2 separate regions of the Homo sapiens genome follow, and region 2 is linked to region 1. The links are contacts of gene promoters, found by promoter capture Hi-C in blood cells and fetal thymus (Javierre and others, 2016). All regions are on one chromosome and are shown on one strand. Each heading gives the region's core, a stretch centred on a gene start or on the middle of the fragment in contact. The rest is flanking DNA. Distances are from core to core; before and after follow the strand shown. Region 1 holds the start of TMEFF2 (transmembrane protein with EGF like and two follistatin like domains 2). Region 2 overlaps LOC105376755 (a long non-coding RNA gene).

Region 1 (4,259 bases), core at 652-3,151:
AATGATGCATAATAATTTTCCTTTTGGCATTTACATCAGTAATAACTAGGAACTATACAGGCTTTCACCCTGAGTTACAGTTGGTCATTCCCTCCTCTCTAAAGTTACATACACTTCAGCTTATATACATCTTTGAAAGACACTTTATTCAGAGCCAGATTTAACTACAGCAAAATTATATTCACAGAAGATGAAAAATTACATACACACTTGCTAAAACTAGAACAGACCACACCTAGGGGACAATACCCAGGCATGTTAACGGAGTTTAAAATGCCAAGGAAATTACACCACAATTCTGCCCAGTATACTACAGGCTGTCAAACCGAAATGCTATGCCAGCTAGGAGTGCAGCAACTCCCATCCTCTGGCCCTATTTAATTAGGAAGCTTCAGCAGAGCGAAGCCTGCCAAGCGTTCGCCGTCAGAATCTGAAGGAACCCGAGCGAGCAAGAAGAGTGCCTGACCCACTCCACAGAAGCCTGTCCAGAAATGGAGGAGTCAGCGCCCACTGAAGTCGGTTCCGCCCTCGGCTCGCCTACATGGAGCCTGACCAGCCTCAGTCATGCCCACTCCGGCCTGGGAGACCCGCAAAGTGTTCTTTTTCTCAACTCCCCTGTACTACCTTGAAGCTTAGGGAAGCAAAGAGAGGGGCATATCTGGACTGCAAAACCAATGTCTTTTGCCGCCTAGGAGAGAAGGGAATGAGAGAGAGAGAGAGATAGATAGATAGAGAGAGAGAGAGAGAGAGAGAGAGAGAGAGAGAGAGAGAGAGAGAAATTCTATTGAAACCCAGCTCCTCTAGAATCTGTGTGACCTGGTCTTCAACGGGAGACCAGTGCGACCTCATGGCACCTTTGCCAGGAATCAGCGATTCCCCTGCAGTCACCATTTGATTTATTGCTTTCTCGCTCATTCTTTCTCATAAAGTTATTTCTTCCTCATCCTAGTAAGACTTTTTTCTTTAATGATGACAAAGCTTCTGTTTCAGTGTTTCCCCTAGGATTGGTGCTCTTTCAAAACAGTGAACCCAGAAAACCATCCCGTTTAATATTTCTCAAAATCCTCGCAGCTCCAATGTAAGCGCAAGCATGCAAAGGTTTCCTGCTACACCTGCACTTTCTGCCCATCCCAGAACCACCCCTCACCCCCGGGCCTGCAACAGTTCCCCTTGTTTCTCTGGATAGAGGTGGGTGGTATTAGGGGTCTAGGGCAGTAGGAGGTGAGGGGCTGAGGAGGCGCGCTAGGGTAGGCTGGTCTGTGCTGGATACGCGTGTTCTTCTGCGGAGTTAAAGGGTCGGGGACGGGGGTTCTGGACTTACCAGAGCAATTCCAGCCGGTGGGCGTTTGGCAGTCACTTAAGGAGGTAGGGAAAGCAGCGAGCTTCACCGGGCGGGCTACGATGAGTAGCATGACGGGCAGCAGCAGCAGCCAGCAAAAGCCCTCGCAAAGTGTCCAGCTGCTGCACTGCCGCGGGGACTCCCACAGCACCATGACTAGTTCGTGCAACTCTGCAGCAGCAAACGGCTTCCGAGGAACACAGGATCGCGGGGGCCGGGCAGCGGGCTACTGAGCATCCCGCGGACGGCGGCAGCAGAGGCGGCGGCGGTGGCAGTGGCACCCGGCGGGGAAGCAGCAGCCAAACCCGCGCATGATCTCGAGAGTTTCAGCAACATCCAGGGACTGGGCTCAGCCCCGGAGCGAGAGGGTCGTCCGCTGAGAAGCTGCGCCGGAGACGCGGGAAGCTGCTGCCATAAGGAGGGAGCTCTGGGAAGCCGGAGGACAGGAGGAGACGGGAGTCCAGGGGCAGACGAGTGGAGCCCGAGGAGGCAGGGTGGAGGGAGAGTCAAGGCGCCCCGCAGCCCGGCAGCCGCCTCTCGAGCTCTGCCGCCCGCATCCCTCTGGCGTTTGGGAAGCAGCAGGTCCTCAGCCCGCCCGGGGTCACGTGGGAAGAGGCAGTCGGGCTCTGATTGGTGGAGCAGGATGCAGGTCCCGGGAGGGAGGGGTCGACGAGGAGGTGCAAGGATGCAAGGAGGAGGCGGCCGCGGAAGCCACAGATGGGCTCGCTCGCCAGGCGCTGGCCCGAGTGGGGCTAGGCGGGGATGGCTCAAATGAGAAGCTCGGGCTTCAGGGTGGGCTACCCGCACACTCATATACCATTCGCCTCACTCTCCGCTCCAGGACGCCCCCTACCGAAGGCGGGGTCCGGACTAGCGCCCCTCTTCCGCGCGTGACCCCGGGCCGCGAGTGCGGGCCGCGGCTGGGTGGCGTCTCTCCGAGCTGGAGATGGTGGGGGCGGAGGTGTCAGAGGAGCAGCAGCAGCAGGGCAGAGAGGGGCGAGTCGGCGCGGGAGAGGGCGTCCTGCTGGCGACCGGCGCTCCAGCGTGCGGGAGCGCGCCGCCTAGGCTGTAGGGGGATGCAGGCTGGGAATGTCGCGGCGGAGAGGCCAGGGACGTTTCTCTAGGGATTTACAGGAAAGAGGGTGAGAGGCGATGGTGTTAGAACCGCTCTTGCCGACCTGGAAGCAACAGCAGCATCTCCCACAAGAGCGTGCAACCCCAAGGCTGCTCGCCGAGGCAGCTCAGCCATCCCGGCAGGCGCTCTCCTTCCTTCTCTCTTCTCCCCTCTCTCCTCCCAGGCCCCCCGCAGCTCCGACCCAGCCCAAGCGTTCGCAGGTTTGAATCCCTCTCCTCATCACCCGCTCCTCTCCAGCCCGTAGCCTATTAGTGTGTCCACCTGGGAGGTGCGGTCAGATGTGTTTGGAAGGTCAGATTGGTCGGGACAAGTGGTCTGAGAGAAAGAGAAAGGCTCCTCTGCATACGCCGCGGGTGGGTTGCCGGGAGCATCGGCCGGGCAGCGGCGTCCGGGAAGGGGAGAGCGGGCTCCATTTGTTGGCCCAGGCAGTGACCCTGCGTTCCTTACTCGGGTCTTTGCCGGATGGCCGGTGACCTGGGGCGACGAGAGAAGGTCTAACTCGGCAGGAGTCTCTGGCTCTGCGCGTTTCTTTCATTCTCTCCAGCGGGAAGGGCAAACGGCATAGCGGGACCCGCCTTCCGTCTGCTGCATTCTTCAGGCAGTTAGACACACTCTTTAGCCTAATGGAATTTTAGTCGCCAGTAACGGGACCAAGAGCTTTCGGGGACAAGGGTGGAGAGGAACATCTTTCTTCCATGACCGGGGTCACTATTGCAGTCTCAGTGTTTTGGATGCCCCATAGGGAAGAGCTTTCTTTTTGGTGTGTGATTATTCAGTGATTCCTGTTTTTGTTTTTGTTTATCTTCTCTCCGCTCTCCTTCTCTATTCCTCTCTGTTATCCCTCCTCCTTCTTCTCCCCCCGCTTTCAAAAGCCTCCGGATCCTCCCTTTTTCTATTTAAATTCTCCTTTTGTGCCCCTCTTTCTGTGTCCCCTGAATTTAGGAGAGCATTTGATAACATTTAACAGGCAATTAGTGTCCATTCCCAATCACTTAAAAGAGGCATTCATATACTTTGAAAACGGGACTATCTATCCTTTGCAGACACCAGCAGAAAAACAAATTGTACCCGAGTAATCCTTTTAAGTACTTTAACCTCCAACCTCCTCCCACTTCCTTGCTTTTTAACTTCTCCTTTGAGAGATGTGATCGTGCAGCACCTCAGTGCCTCAACGAAATCTTTTTTTTTTTCCTGTGTGAAATCCATCCCTTTATCTTACATCTCCGCCTCCGTCCGAGACTGTCCCTCTCCCCTCCCACCTCCAAAGATTTCTGAATCTCAGTGTCTCTCACTCCTGGCAATTAAGCAGCAGATCCCAGCATTCTAGTCGGTGGCATCTCGCTCCTCACCGACGAAGACTCCATTAAAACAGATCAATTAGACCAGACGTTGGAGGCATCAGAAAATCGGCTTCTAGACAGAGCAGCTAAATTCTTTAAGGAAACAGAATACCCATTAGATAGAGCTGCCAACTAATATTGCAAAACAAGGAATTAGAAATTTCTTTCGCTACAGGCTTTCAGCAGAGAAGGCAACATAAATATAGATCAAGATTTAACAACTCTACAGCAGAGAATGAGAACATGTCATTTTCCATAGCAAGGCTGGTGTGGTAACTAATCAGGCTTATGAAAATAAGTCATGCTTGAAACTAAAGGCAAAGTCCTTAAAAGTGTTTATGCAGTAATTATGATAATGAAACAGGACCTGCTAGGATTTCAGAGTTTGGCTATGTAAGTAGAATTTTAGAGAACCTCTTAGCAGAGGAAAACTGTTTTTGAATTT
Region 2 (3,827 bases), core at 398-2,897, 2.6 Mb after region 1:
GGTAATTTATAAAGAAGAGAGGTTTAATTGACTCACAGTTATGTATGGCTGGGGAGGCCTCAGGAAACTTACAATCATGGCAGAAAGAACCTCTTCACAGGGCAACAGGAGAGAGAATGAGTGCAAGCAGGGAAAATGCCAAAGGCTTATAAAACCATCAGATCTCCTGAGACTACTCAATATCATGAGCCCAGCGTGGAGGAAACCACTGCCATGATTCAATTACCTCTACCTGGTCCTGCCCTTGACACATAGGGATTATGAGGATTACAATTCAAGGTGAGATTTGGGTAGAGAAACAGAACCAAACCATATCACTTGCTTAAAAATACTTAACTGGAAAATATAAGAGCCTTGACTGAAATTCACTTCTCTATGACTCCAATTCTCATTGTCCTTGACACTGAGAGTACAGACAGACATTGACTTCATTCATTTAAAATAAACACCAACAAAGAAGAAATAATTTTTACACAATAATGTATATACATTTTATTTTTATATATTTATAGATTCTCTAACATTATATACATGTTTACATGTATTCTTTAATTTTTCTGTAAGTTATTTGGCATTAATCTAGTTGTCTTGATGAAATTTTCACTTTCTTTTATTTGCCCCCAAATTCAAAATATAATGTTCATACTTTTTAAGAAAAATAATTTTCATCAAAGTGAAACTTTGAAAACTGAAATTTGGGTTTATGTGCAATATTGCAAATATGTCTCGTCTTGTCAAAATAACATATGTTTCCTGACAATACAGAGAAGCAACATATTTTAATCATGTCAATATATTTCAATATATTAAAGATCTCCTATGTATCTATAATTCTCACATCCACGAATATTTATATTATCTGAAAGATAAGATATGAGTCCTGTTTCTTCTGTATTTACAACGGAAAATGTTTCCACTACAATTTCTTACATTGTGAATTTTTTTTAGAGATGTAAGCATGTAGAAAATGTGATGAAAACCGTGGAAGCAGTTGACTTCCTTATTGAAAAGAAGGCTTTTTATGTATAAAATGGATATCCCTCTATCATAAAACAGTTATTTTGTGGGTTCTTATTTCTTTGCTTACATTCCTTTTTGTTAGATTGTTTTAATGATTCTTTATGCCCACATCTATTAATTGCTCACTTTCCAAGAAATATACATATACGCTCATAAGAATTTCAAGAATAAGACTGGTGAAACCTAAAGATATTTTTACCTTGTTAGTACAAGCTTTGTTTGAGTTACATACATCCAAAAAATAATTTGAATACAAGTAAATGTTTTCCTTTAACACTAGACAAGTAAGACTCTCTCAATGTAAGATGCTAAAAATTACCTTGGAGTAATTTTGGAGGAAAAAGAAAGATAAAATTCTGGATATTAGAGTGCATAAATATAACTTAGACTTAAACATGAGATTAAGAACATTAAGAAAATTAAACACAAGGCATAGAGAAATTAGAGGTCACTCAATCATATCTTTTGACATCTGATGGGTTTTGCAAAATTAATATGTTACTTGGTACCAGTTAACCAGGCACAAATTTCCATCTCTCTAGCTCTACTTTTGCCCCAACCCTGAATTCTTCATGATTAAAGGCTCTGCTCTTCCTTTAACATTTATTGATAAGCAATCTACATTTTAGAGCAAATCTTTATATCACATAGCATAGGTGCAGAGAAAAGGTAAGAATCAAGTGAGGAGCTATAAAGCAACATTAAAAAAATGGCATTGTCTCTCTTTTCCAAAATGGATATTTGCAATCAATCTACTAGTTAACTATAAATGGAACAATGTACTTTCTTCCTTTCTCCAAACTGGAGAAGAGACTTTTAGAAGAATCTGAGTAAACAGGAAAACTTAGTCTTATCTTACAAGTCAAGGAAGCAGTTATTAAGAACATATGGATAAGCATGAAATCAAATCTTATTCTCTGCAAAGGAGCAAAGTTTGAAAGTAGATGATTCCCTACTTAATAATGTGAAACACTAATTCCATAGAAGACCTGTAGCCTGGCAAACCATGGGGCAATTAGGAGAATAGTCCCCTCATTCTTAGAAAGCTTGGATGGAACTGTGTCTCAGAATTAATATCTGTTATTGTCCTGGAAGAAATAAATGTGTATGTTGGGGCAGAAAAATGTAAGTTTGTGTCTTATTTAAGTTATTAACTGAGAAACAGAGAGTCATATTTATATGACTGCAACTATTCCAATGAAGTAACAAAGAGCATAGACTTGGGAATGTTTTGCAGAAGAAAGATCATAGACCTGGGAATGTCTAGCCCTGGGAATGTCTAATGAACTGCTCTGTGGGCCACCCAGAATTTCTTGCTGGAACTCTGGATATATTTTGTTGCTTGGATATGTCAAATGTGGAAAAATAGATTGCTGGGGATGAATTTGGGACCCATACAAACTACATAAGTAGTTAGGTTTTCTGAAAAGTTGGCTGGAGATTGTACATTCAAAGTTTAAGGAAGAAGACAATTTTTACAGATAGGCAAAAACTCTTAATAGGGTATTAAATTTAGAAACTGAGGACATATAAGAGGATATATTTTTAGAAGACTACTATAGAAAGGGCTTATATCCTTAGGTGTTTTTCCTTTGGTCTATGTAAAAAATCTTACCTAGCATATAGTTCTAAATTTTATGCCCCATGTTCATTAATTACTGTAATGCTTATTCAAGTTTTATGTCCTATGTAGATAAGAAGAGAGATTCATAAGAGAATAAAGACATAAAGAAATTAAAAGAACCACAGCATATTGACACCTTTACTACCCTTTGTTCAACAGAAACATCATCCAAGTGATTGCGCCATGTCTAATACCTTCAGGTGTTCACTGTCACTGAAGTTAGTGTCAATCATGTTAGAGATGGGAAGACCTGAGAAAACTTATGACAGTGAGGTGGAGATAGACCGGGAAGAAATGTTAAAAATTCTTTTTCAAAATATACTACAGAACATGATAGGGCCTGTAAAAATGGCTTCATTCCCCTGAATCTTTTCTTTTTGTCATCTGTCAAAGAGGAATAAAAGGGGTATTTTGCTTTGCTCCTGGTTTTACAAATAATATGAAGTAACATATGAGAAAAACATTCTATAAATTAGGATAAGCCCTATAAATATAAGGCATAATTATAAAAATTAAATACAAAATCAGTGGCAGAGTTGTTTAATCATAGTCCTAATAGAAGGCTCTTTGATGTTAAATGATTTACTGCTGGAACCACAGTGCCACCTAAAGACTTCATACCAAAACTATAGGATTAACAATAATTGTTTTTGATTCTTTTTTTTTTCCTTCTTTGCTGTCTATATTGTGTCAACAAATGTGGATACTATATTGGCAATATTCCATCACAAAGTGTTCTGTAGTAGTTCCAGAATTGAATTCAGTTTATAATGTAAATCTCTCATCAAATAGTTAAGAGGTTTTTTTTAAAGACCTAAAAGCAAATGTGACCAGGAAACAGAACATACATAGAATTTATTTAATGACTTTACATTACATTGCTTTCTAAATGTAATAAGAATAACATTTTCAGAAAACTTAAGCAATTACATCCTTACTAATTTAATGCACATATTCTATACTAAGAAAAACATAGAAGAATATATTTAAACACATGCAGGAAAGAAAGGAAATAGAACAGACTGATTTAATGTATTAAGAAATGGCTTCAGGTCTTTCACTAATATTTACAAAGGACCAACACAGTTCATGTCCTCATAGGTAAGAAGTGATAAAGACAGATAATATAAAGATCAGTCTTACTATAAACATAGATGATGTAAGATAATAAATGAAACACAGG

What was found. The method cuts DNA at HindIII sites, captures the fragments that hold promoters and counts their contacts. A CHiCAGO score of 5 or more calls a contact.
Region 2: a fragment that was not itself captured here is called in contact with the fragment with the promoter of TMEFF2 in region 1 in 1 of 17 cell types (endothelial precursors); the score reaches 6.7 in endothelial precursors.

What each region holds. Positions count from the first base shown.
Region 1 is chr2:192,193,032-192,197,290 of GRCh38, forward strand. It overlaps TMEFF2 (transmembrane protein with EGF like and two follistatin like domains 2), which reads right to left and starts at 1,902. Exons shown (of 10, transcript NM_016192.4): 1 at 1,322-1,902. The coding sequence starts at 1,493. RefSeq lists an enhancer at 1,848-2,423. The HindIII fragment of the contact is 4,792 bases long and covers 977-4,259 here.
Region 2 is chr2:194,816,335-194,820,161 of GRCh38, forward strand. All of the region lies in intron 3 of LOC105376755 (a long non-coding RNA gene), which reads right to left. Among named protein-coding and RNA genes, the nearest start is that of LINC01790, 88 kb to the left of the region's middle. The HindIII fragment of the contact is 833 bases long and covers 1,232-2,064 here.